2 separate regions of the Homo sapiens genome follow, and region 2 is linked to region 1. The links are contacts of gene promoters, found by promoter capture Hi-C in blood cells and fetal thymus (Javierre and others, 2016). All regions are on one chromosome and are shown on one strand. The core of a region is centred on a gene start or on the middle of the fragment in contact, and the rest is flanking DNA. Distances in the headings are between cores, read along the strand shown. Region 1 holds the start of LINC01063 (long intergenic non-protein coding RNA 1063). Region 2 has its middle 15 kb from the start of SMCO1.

What was found. The method cuts DNA at HindIII sites, captures the fragments that hold promoters and counts their contacts. A CHiCAGO score of 5 or more calls a contact.
Region 2: a contact is called between a fragment that was not itself captured here and the fragment with the promoter of LINC01063 in region 1, in 1 of 17 cell types (M2 macrophages). The highest score is 5.2, in M2 macrophages.

Annotation. Positions count from the first base shown.
Region 1 is chr3:196,629,176-196,635,027 of GRCh38, forward strand. LINC01063 (long intergenic non-protein coding RNA 1063) reads right to left here and starts at 3,412. Exons shown (of 2, transcript NR_132101.1): 1 at 3,213-3,412; 2 at 2,329-2,470. RefSeq lists an enhancer at 3,080-3,834 and a silencer at 3,224-3,303. The HindIII fragment of the contact is 3,065 bases long and covers 3,058-5,852 here.
Region 2 is chr3:196,526,964-196,532,815 of GRCh38, forward strand. It overlaps the pseudogene NAA50P2. Among named protein-coding and RNA genes, the nearest start is that of SMCO1, 15 kb to the left of the region's middle. RefSeq lists an enhancer at 955-1,024 and a silencer at 1,795-2,094. The HindIII fragment of the contact is 2,813 bases long and covers 782-3,594 here.

The DNA of each region.
Region 1 (5,852 bases), core at 2,162-4,661:
TCACCCGCCTCGGCCTCCCAAAGTGCTGGGATTACAGGTGTGAGCCACCATGCCTGGCCGATAATTGTATTTTAAATAAGAAACCTAAAGCTTCAAAATCCTCAAAATATAATACTTAAAAACATTTATACAGATATTAAAGGAATAGTTCAATAGCAGTGAAATATTTTTAATTTGAGAAGCCAAATACATATTCATGAATCACTCTAGAGATACAAAGAGAAACTGCACAATTTCAAAACAGTATGGTCAAAATATGATGTCATTCTGTTTAACTAGCTTTAAGATGTTGCTAGGTGCTCCAATGTTCTAATTTAGACTATAATAGGAAAACACATGTTTTACATAAATGTATTTTCCAAATAACTAGAGAGTATCAGTTTAAGCACTAATCTTTTTTATTCTGATTTTCAAAAAATGTTAAACAAATCCCACTTCACGGGGATTACAGATGTGAGCCGCCACACTTCCCTTTCTTGTATACTGAGTCTATGTTAACCTATTCTTTTTTTCTGGCGTGATCTCGGCTCATTTGCAACCTCCACCTCCCAGGTTCAAGTGATTCTCCTGTCTCAGCCTCCTGAGTAGCTGGGATTACAAGCATGCACCACCACACCCAACTAATTTTGTATTTTTAGTAGAAACAGGGTTTCACCATGTTGGTCAGGCTGGTCTCGAACTCCTGACCTCAGGTGATCTGCCTGCCTCGGCCTCCCAAAGTGCTGGGATTACAGGCGTGAGCCACAGTGCCCAGTGGTTTATTTTTATAGAACAGCTTTATTGAGCTATAACTCATCTACCATATAATTTACGCATTTAATGTGTACAAGGCAATTGCTTTTAGCATGTTCACATACTCATGAAACCATCACCACAATTTTAGAACATTTTCATAACCTCAAAAGGAAACCCCATACCCATTACCAGTCACTCCCATTTTCCCCCAAACCCCCAGACCTAGGTAACCACTAATCTTTCTCTCTCTACAGATTTGCCTTCTCTGAACAATTCATGTAAATGAAATCATGTAACATGTGATCATTTGTGACTGACTTTTTTCACTTAGCATAATGTTTTCAAAGTTTGTCCCTGTTGTAGCATGTATCAGTACTTTATTCTCTTCTATGGCTGAGAAATGTTCCACTGCATAGCTGGGCGCAGTGGCTCAAGCCAGTATTCCCAGCACTTTGGGAGGCTGAGGCGGGTGGATCGCTTGAGCTCAGAAGTTCAAGACCAGCCTGGGCAGAAACCCCATCTCTACCAAAAATACAAAAAATTAGTCGGGTGTGGTGGCAGGCACCTGTGGTCCCAGCTACTGGGGAGGCTGAGGTGGGAGGATCGCTTGAGCCCAGGAGGAGGTTGCAGTGAGCTGAGATAGCATCACTGAACTCCAGCCTGGGTGACAGAAAGAGATCCCATCAAAAAAAAAAAAAAGAAGAAAGAAGAAAGAAAGAAAGAAGGAAAGAAAAAGAAAGAAAGAAAGAGAAAGAAAAGAAAGAAAGAAAGAGAAAAAGAAATTCCACTGCATGGATATACTGTATCCACTCGTCAGTTAGTTGATGGACATTTGGGTTTTTTCCACTTCTTGGTAATCATGAATGATGCTGTTCTGAACATTCATGTTCGGGTGTTAGTATAGCATGGCTTCAGGTGTTAGTATAGCATGTCTTCAGGTGTTTGTATAGCATGTCTTCATTTCTTTTAGGTCCCTAGGAATGGAATTTGTGAGCCACCTGATAACTCCATGCTTTTACCTTTTGAGGAGCTGCCAGACTCCTTTCCAAAGTTTCTGCACCATCTTACATTCCCACCAGCAGTGTATGAGGGTCGCAGTTTCTCCACATACTTGTTTTATTTGACCTTTTGATGCTAGGCATCCTAGTGCATATAAAGTGATATGTCATTGTAGTTTTTGTTTTTGGGGTTTTTTTAGACAGGGTTTCACTCCCGTCACCCAGGCTGGAGTGCAATGGCACAATCTCGGCTCACTGCAACCTCTGCCTCCTGGGTTCAAGTGAGTCTCCTGCCTCAGCCTCCTGAGTAGCTGGGATTACAGGCACAGGCCACTGTGCCCGGCTAATTTTTGTATTTTTTTGTAGAGACGGGGTTTCACCATGTTGGTCAGGCTGGGTTTGAACTCCTGGGCTCAAGCGATCCACCTGCCTCAGCCTCCCAAAGCGCTGGGATTACAGGTGTGAGCCACAGCGCCTGGCCTCTCATTGCAGTTTTGATTTGCATTTCCCTGATGACAAATGATATCAAGCATCTTTTCACATGATTACTGGCCATTTGTATACCTTCTGTGGAAATGTGGTAACACCCTTTGCTGATTTTAAAATAGGGTTATTTGTTTATTATTGAGTTGAAATAATTCCTTCTTTTGAGTGTCAGTGACTGAGGTTCGCTGTGACACAGAGGGGTTCTCCTGGAGAGCTATGGCACATGCTCCATATTAAAAGGCAACATGATGCTGTCAGGAAGAACACAAAAGCAATTATAAAAACGTGTTAGTACATATTTATGCATCTTTTTTCTTACTCTCTCTTTGCTATCTATTCTCACAGCTCTAAATATGAATTATTTCTCTAGGTAGAGGCCAAGCATGAGTCAGCTTCTCCCAAGAATCAGTTGCCTGGGCTTCGAGACAGTTTTCTGCCGTATTTTGGGTAATTGTAGTTGCCAGGAGTCTGACTTCTGAGGGTGTCAGGTGCCATTTGCCGTTAAGTGGAGATAGTAGGTTGAACAGGGTGGGACTAATTGGGGCCAGTTTTGAGGAGGTGAATCTTTAGTGAAATCGCCAAGAACACAGTGGTGAGGACCTGGCAGAGAGGAGGAGATTCCAAGGCTGGGGGAATTGGGTAGTGGCGTCTGGGCACTGGGTCCTGTAGAAGGGAATTGGCGAGATGAATGAGCAGGGCTTCACAGGTGTGACTGATCTTGGTAAAGACGGTGAGAAGCCGTGACCAGGCAGGGTGTGCATGGGAGCAGTGAAAGGTCTAAAATTCAGCCTTTGAGCTCAGTGCTAGGTTCATGCTAGTAATTGGTTCCGATAGGTTAAGCTTCCTCTGGTTTGCCGGTGTGAGAAGAAAGAAAAACCTACTCCTCCCTGTTTCCGCCTCACCAGCTTCCCTTCTCTGCCAGCCCCACCCTGCCCCCGGCCCGTGTGGCTAAACTGCCCAACTGCCGATTAAAACCCGCACCTCCCAACATACCTCGCACCACCCAGAGGCCCCGGTCCCCGCCATTCATTCCGCTCCCGGCCGGGAGTCGCTCTAGCCAATCACCTTCCAGGCTCAGGGCGGCCGAGGCAGGGCCTCTGCCTCTTCGGGGGGCCTCTCCCTCCCCCTGCCCCTGATTGTGGCTGAACTGCCACCGCTTGATAGCAAACCACACTCGGCACAGGAAGGAGAACAGCGCCCGCGGCCCCGGGCCTCCATGAAATCAGCAAGGGCGCGCTCCTCCCACCGCCGCGCTGCTGAGCCTCCCGCCTTTCCTTCCGGTCGCTCGCGCCTCGAGAGGCGCCGCAGGGAGCCCTCTGCCGGTCCCGCCCTTCGCTGTTAGCGCTTAGGATCTGGTGCCTTTTCACGTGGGGGCGGGTGGGCGGGAGGCGAGTCTGGGGTCTTCGGGCCGGGCCTCCGCTCTCTGGCAGTTTGCACCTTGCTCCACTCACTGGCCTGCGGTCTGTGTTCACTCCTCCTCCTCTCCCACGTCTCAGGAACCTGCAGCTGGCCCCCGAGCCCGCGCCCTCCCGGTTCTAGGAATTCACCACTTTCTTGCCTTTGTTTGGGTATCTTTTGTTTGGAGCCAGAGCCGGCTCCAAGGAGGAGCTGCCGGAGGGTGCTAGGCTTTTTGCAGAGGAAGTGAGGAGCAGAGTGATAGGGCGTGAAGTCAGAGGGAGCAGAGAAGGGGCCGAATCCAGCGGGGCCCGGATCATGCAGGGCCCGGAGCCTGTGGTGAGGACTCCGGGATTTATATTCACCAATTATGAGAAAGGACTTCTCGGCCGGGCGCGGTGGCTCACACCTGTAATCCCAGCACTTTGGGAGGCTGAGGCCGGCGGATCGCCTAAGGTCAGGAGTTCGGGACCACCCTGGACAACATGGTGAAACTTTGTCTCTACTAAAAATACAAAAATTAGCCAGGCGTGGTGGTACATGCCTGCAATCCCAGATACTTGGGAGGCTGAGGCAGGAGAATCGCTTGAACCCAGGAGGCGGAGGTTGCCGTGAGCCGAGATCGTGCCACTGTACTCCAGCCTGGGCAACAAGAGCGAAACTCCGTCAAAAAAAAAAAGAAGAAGAAGAAGAAGAAGAAAAGAAAAAAGCAAAGAAAGAAAAGAAAGAGGACTTATCAATGACCACAAATGACTAAGTCCTCAACCTCTCCAACAGCTCTAGAGCAAATGACACTTTAGCCTGTGCTGAGCCCCTACAAGGTGCTAGACCAAGTATTCTTGGGGATATATACAAATGTGAACAAGCCAGAGACCCTGCCTGGCAGGACTCACTGTCCAGGGGGAAGGCAAAACTGCAAAGATGAGCTGGGACGCCCCATGGGAAACGCTGGACAGAGTCAGCCACAAAGCCATCCCCTTGCAGCCTCCTCCTTGGCATGGCCTTATTTTCCTTGTTGGATCCCTAGTGTCCTACCCCATGCCAGGTCCCACCCCAGGAGGGTCCAGTTCACACTTCCAGAAAGTTTGGGCTGCACTGTCCCAGCGGCTGTGCCCTTCGTGCTCTCCCGCTCCCAGGACTCTCCCAGCACCGCGTGCCCATTTTCCCCAAGGTCCTTTCGGCCCTGGACCAGACCATGGTTAGTTATGGGTGCCCCTTCCCCTCGCTGTCCCACTCCACGCCCTGGCACTGATAGGACACTTCCATGTTATCTTTGCACCACCTGGACTCTTTGATCATATGTTGATACTGTCGGTGTTTCAGGACAGGAAGAGGCAGTGTCCCCACAGAGGTCAGTCACCGGAGTCAGTGGCTGCGGGAGGCCATGGGCAGCAGGGAGCTAGAGGAGCTGATCTCAGGATTGGAGACCGCCACCTCCTCCAGGAGGAGAAACACGCGGGGAAGAGCCCCCAGCCCCACCCCACCCCCGCACTGCCTTCAGCCTCTGCATTGACCCCTCCGCTTTTCCAGGATGGGCATCATGAGGCGTTGAGTGGTACCAATGTGGGCGGTGGGCTCTCCTCTTTCCGGTTTTAATTCTTGGTTCTTAAAAACTCCGTTCCAAATGAGGGAAATGAAACTACTGAACACTCTCCCCCAGCAGCCAGCTGACGTGGGGCAAGAGAACAATTCCCAGTTAAGGCCCCAAAGGAAATCCCCTCCCTGCCATGTGCTGAGGCTGGAGAAGTGGGGGCTGGAGAACTGGAGAAGTGGGGGCTAGGAGAAGTGGAGGCTGGAGAAGTCGGGGCTAGGAGAACTGGGGGCTGGAGAACTGGGGGCTGGAAAGGGGGGGCTGGGAGAAGTGGGGGCTGGAGAACTGGGGTCTGGAGAAGTGGGGGCTGAAGAAGTGGAGGCTGGAGAAGTGGGGACTGGGAGAAGTGGGGGCTAGAGAAGTGGGGGCTGGGAGAAGTGGGGACTGGGAGAAGTGGGGGCTAGAGAAGTGGGGGCTGGGAGAAGTGGGGTCTGGAGAAGTGGGGGCTAGAGAAGTGGAGGCTGGAGAAGTGGGGGCTGGAGAAGTGGGGGCTGGGAGAAGTTGGGGAGGCTCTATCTAGCTCACTGCTCCGCCACCAAGGTGAAGGGCCTGTCTGTGGCCAGCGGCTGAGAGCCCACAGCACAGCGGAGAACCCCAGAGGCAGGAGCAAGAGGACCATGATTTTGCCCGGGGTGAGCCGCCAGTTC
Region 2 (5,852 bases), core at 938-3,437, 100 kb before region 1:
CCTGTCTCTACTAAGAAAATACCAAAATTAGCCGGACGTGGTGGCAGGCGCCTGTAGTCCCAGCTACTCAGGAGGCTGAAGCAGGAGAATCATTTGAACCCAGAAGGCGGAGGTTGCAGTGAGCTGAGATCTCGCCATTGCATTCCAGCCTGGGCAACAGTGTGAGACTCCGTCTCCAAAAAAAAAAAATAGAGACAGAGTCTTGCTATGTTGCCCAGGCTGGTCTCCAACTCCAAGCTAAGAAATGTGAAATTATTTGACACCTAAATTTTTAGAACCATTTATCTTAACTGTGAAATTAAACAGATCTACCTTCTCCTGCCTTCAGTCAAACCACCTCACAAAAATAAGAGAACTGAAACAATCCAAACATGATCTTTTTTTTTTTTTTTTTTTTTTTTTTTTTTTTGAGATGGAGTCTTGCTCTGTGGCCCAGGCTGGAGTGCAGTGGCACGATCTCGGCTCACTGCAACCTCTGCCTCCCAGGTTCAAGCGATTCCCCTGTCTCAGGCTCCTGAGTAGCTTGGGACTACAGGCACACGCCACCACGCCTGGCTAATTTTTGTATTTTTAGTACAGATGGGGTTTCACCATGTTGGCCAGGCTCGTCTGGAACTCCTGACCTCAAGTGATCCACCCACCTTGGCCTCCCAAAGTGCTGGGATTACAGGAGTGAGTCACTGCGCCTGGCCCAAACATGATCATTTTTAAAGTCCTTGAAAGTATTAAAACTTTGAAAAGAAAAGAAAGAAGGAAAAACAAAAACATGGCAGTGCAGGAAAGCTTTACAAGAAAGAGGGGGTGAAAATCAATGGGCTTGTCTTTTTTTGTCAACAAGCAAGTGCAAGAAGGTTCATTTTGTGACTTGTTCAGTTGTGTTTTGCATATCTCCATTCTGATCGGAAGGGACTTTGAGGTTTTTCTGCAACTCCTGAGCATCTGCAGGCTCCATCCTCTTATCCTTTATCTGTCTTTGTCTCAGTCATCTCAAAGCCAAACTTCTGTAGAAGTCAATTGCTGACTCATTGCTGATCTGGACAAACAGATGTTGTCAAAAGTGCCATCTTGGCTGGGCAGTGGCTTATGCCTGTAATCCCAGCACTTTGGGAGGCTGAAGTAGGCAGATCCCTAGAGTACAGGAGTTCGAAACTAGCCTGGCCAATATGGTGAAACCCCGTCTCTACTAAAAACACAAAAATTAGCCAGGCGCGGTGGCTCCCATCTGTAACCCCAGCACTTTGGGAGGCCAAGGCGGGCGGATGTCCTGAGGTCGGGAGTTCAAGACCTGCCAGGCCAGCATGGTGAAACCCCGTCTCTACTAAAAATACAAAAATTAGCCGGGCGTGGTAGCACATGCCTCTAATCTCAGCTACTCGGGAGGCTGAGGCAGGAGAATCACTTGAACCCGGGAGGTGGACGTTGCAGTGAGCCGAGATCGCGCCACTGTACTCCAGCCTGGGTGACAGAGCGAGACTCCATCTCAAAAAAAAAAAAAAAAAAAAAAAAAAAAAAAAAAAAAAAAAGAAAGAGAGAGAGAGAGAGAAAGAAGGAGAAGAAAAAGGTGCCATCTTCTCCACAGATGTTTGACACGATTTAACATCTGAGTTGCTATTCCTGGCCTTGGGTAAGGTGCCGGACACCCTGGTGTGATGATGTGTCTGCGAATGATCCACCGTCCCGCCCTCGCCCCAGCTTTGCTAGCTCAGCCTCCAGCACGCCCTTGTAGGACGTGTCCCTGCAGCCGACTGAAAAGGTGGCCTGGATGGGTGTCTTCAAGTACGGAGAACTGCGGTGTCGCGCCTCCGGGCCCCATCCGGCTCCCAGCATCTTCTCCCGCTGCGGAGGCCGCATTTCCACTCAGGGCAGCGCCGCCGCGGTGGTTCCGCCCTGTCGGGCTCAGACCGGCCTGGGCGCCTCCGCGGGGAGCTGGGCGGTGGCGGGGGCCGCGGGAGTGGAGCCGGCCCGAGCCTCCAGGGGGCGCTGGCGGCCGCTTCCTCCATCCGCAGGCGGCTCCCGGCCACGCCCGTCGCTGAGCGTGAGGCGATGGCGGCCGAGCTCAGAACACTGGTCCCCGGAATGGAGAGCTGAGGGGACAGATCTAAGGGACATTTATAACTCCGCAGGGACTCCGGGGTGGGAGTCAGTCCGTCTCAGGTGCGTCTCCGGAAGAACTTCGGCGTCCTCAGGGAATCAGTCCCTGCCCCAGTGAGAAAAACCTTGCTGGGTCCTCCCTGATCCCCGCCACTACTTTTTTCTCCTTAGCAAAATCCAGATATTGTTTGAGTATTGGGCAGCCACGTGCTTCAGGGGAAGCTGAGCCCCTTCCCAGTGTGAGAGTTGGGGGTGAGTCTTAGAATAAATCAATCACAGCAATTTTATTATTATTGCCGTTATCATTGGTTTAGGAACGGACAGGTGGCAGAATTCTGGCCCATGAAATATAAGAAGAGGCCCACTGTGGAGCTTCTGAGGCCGGGCACGGTGGCTCACGCCTGTAATCCCAGCACTTTGGGAGGCTGAGGCTGGCGGATCACGAGGTCAGGAGTTCGAAACCAGCCTGGCCAACATGGTGAAACCCCCATCTCTACTAAAGATACAACAAATTAGCCGGGCGTGGTGGCGCGCACCTGTAATCCCAGCTACTCGGGAGGCTGAGGCAGGAGAATCGCTTGAACCCAGAAGGCAGAGGTTGTAGTGAGCCAAGATCGTGCCATTGCACTCCAGCCTGGGTGACAGGGCGAGACTCTGTCTCCATAAATTAATTAATTAATTAATTAATTAAGACATAGTCTTGCTACGTTGCCCAGGCTGGTCTCCAACTCCTGGGCTCAAGTGGTCCTCCCGCCTTGGCCTCCCAAAGTGCTGGGATTACAGGTGTGAGCCAGAAAAGTTTGTTTAAATTGTGCAAAAATATACATAACAAAATTTACCATTTTTATATTTTACTTACTTTTTATTTATTTCAATAGGTTTTTGGGGAACAGGTGGTGTTTGGTTTCATAAGTTCTTCAGTGGTGATTTCTGAGATTTGGTGCAGCCATCACTCGAGCAGTGTACACGGTACCCAACGTGTGGTCTTTTATCCCTCGCCCCCTTCCCACCCTTTCCCCTGAATACCCAAAGTGCATTGTATCTTTTTTTTTTTTTTTTTTTTTGTGAGATGTAGTCTCTCTGTGTCGCCCAGGCTGGAGTGCAATGGCACGATCTCGGCTCACTGCAACCTCTGCCTCCCGGGTTCAAGTGATTCTCCTGCCTTAGCCTCCTGAATAGCTGGGACTACAGGCACATGCCACCAAGCCCAGCTAATTTTTGTATTTCTAGTAGAGACGGGGTTTCACCATGTTGGGCAGGATGGTCTCGATCTCTTGACCTCATGATTCGCCTGCCTCGGCCTCCCAAAGTGCTGGGATTACAGGCTTGAGCCACCGCACCCGGTCCACTCCGTGGCTTTCTTTTCATCATCTTGATGGTGTGTTTTCATGAACTAATGTTCTTAATTTTCAAGTAGTCCAATTTATCATGTTTTCATTTTGATGTCTTATATATGAAATTTTTCCTACCCCAAGGTCATGAAAATATTTTTTTCCTTTTAGAAGCTTCACCACTTTACCTATTACATTTATATCTGTAATATGCCTAAAATTTAGACCTTTGGATTAATGTGAAGAAGGTCAAGATTCTTTTCTTCTCCATATGGATATACAACTGACTCAATCCCATTTATTATAAAGAGTTTCCTCACTGCTCTGCAGTGGACTTTTGTCATTAATCAAGTTTGCATACATGCAAGCATCTATTTCTATCCTCTATTCTGTTCCATTGGTCTGCTTATTTATTCTTGTGCCCAAATCACACTCAACCTTAATTATTTTGGCTTCATTAAAAAGTCTTAATAACATACAGTGTGAGTCCTCCAGCTATGCTCTTCAAGATTATCTGGGGTATTCTGGGCCATTTGCATTTTCATATAAAATTTTCAATAAGCTTGCTAATTTTTAGAACGCTATGAGCTGGGATATTGAGTAGAATTACATTGACATCTTCATAATATTTAGCCTTCTAATTCATGAATATGATACGTATCTTTATTTAGATTCTCTTTAATTTTCCTCGGTCGTGTTTTGTAGTTTCCTTTGTAGAGTTTTTGCATGTTTTCCATTAGATTTATTACTAGGTATTTGATGTTTCTTGATGCTGTTGTAAGTAGTGTTTAATGTTTTTCTTATTGCTGTTATAAATACGACCAATTTTTCTATATTTACCTTTTTATTCAGCAACCTTACTAAACCCATTTTTCACTTAGTCGTTCATCTGTAGATGCCCGCCCGCCCGCCTGCCTGCCTGCCCGCCCACCCGCCCGCCTGCCCGCCCGCCTGCCCGCCTGCCCGCCTGCCCGCCTTTCTTTTCTTTCGTCTTGCTCTGTCACCCAGGCTGGAGTGCAGTGGCGTGATCTCAGCTCACTGCAACCTCCACCTCCTGGGTTCAAGTGGCTCTCCTGCCTCAGCCTCCTGAGTAGCTGGTACTACCGGCACATGCCACCACACCTGACTAATTTTTGTATTTTTAGTAGAGACAGGGTTGCACCATGTTGGCCAGGCTTGTCTCAAACTCCTGACCTCAGGTGATCCACCCACCTTTTCCTCCCAAAGTGCTGGAATTACAGGCGTGAGTCACCGCATCCGTCCTTGTTCTGCAAACACAATCATGTTGTCTGTGAATGACAGTTTTAGTTCTTCCTTTCCAATTCTTATGTCTTTCATTTCTTTTTCTTGTCTTGTTGTAATGTCTACACCTTCAACAGAATGTTGAATAGAATTAATCAAGGGAATTTCATTCTATTCTCAAACTCCTGACCTCAGGCCATCTGCCTGCCTCAGCCTCCCAAAGTGCTGGGATTATAGGCTTCATTCTATTCTCTTGTTACCAACATCATGAAGAAAGTTTCAGTGTTTTACCATGTTTCTAAATTATTCATGTCTCAAAGAAGAAAATACAATGAAAATTTTAAATGTTTCATTGAAAAACAATGAAAATGTGACATAAGACAATAAGGAGGTAGCTAAAACTGTACTTTGAAGAAATTTTGTCTCAAATGCAAAATAAAAGCTGGACATATCCGTGAGATAAGTGTTCATCTCAAGGTGTTAGAAAAAGAGCAAATTAAACCTAAAGTTATTAGAATGAAGGAAATAATAAAGATTAGAGCAGGAATTCATGAAATAGAAAGAAATAAATAATAGAAAGGATTATCAAAGGCAAATATTAGTTCTTTGACCCTTGTGCACTATTGATGGGAATGTAAATTATTACGGCCATTATGAAAAACAGTATGGAGGTTTCTGAAAAAATTAAAAATAGGACTACCATATGATCCAGCAATGATATATACTAGGTGCATATCTGGAGGAAATGAACTCAGTGTGTTGAAGGGACACCTACACTCCCACATTAATTGCAGCGTTATTCATAATAGCCAAGATATGGAATCAACTTAAGGAGCCATCAACAATGTGGTATGCTAGGCATGGTGGCTCATGCCTATAATCCCAGCATTTTGGAAGGCTGAGGCAAGAGGATCACTTGTGCCCAGGAGTTTGAAACCAGGCTAGGCAACATAGTGAGACCTCATCTCTACAAAACAAAAAAAAAATTAATTTGAAAAACAATATGCTGAAAAAATGTGCTACATGCTCATCATGGATGACATTAAAAATAAGTAAATAAGCAATATGGTGTATATACACAATGGAATACTATTCAGCCTTTAAAAAGAAGGAAATTCTGTCATTTGCAACAAGATGTAAGATCCTGGACGACATTATGCTATGAGAAATAAGTCAGGCATAGGAAGA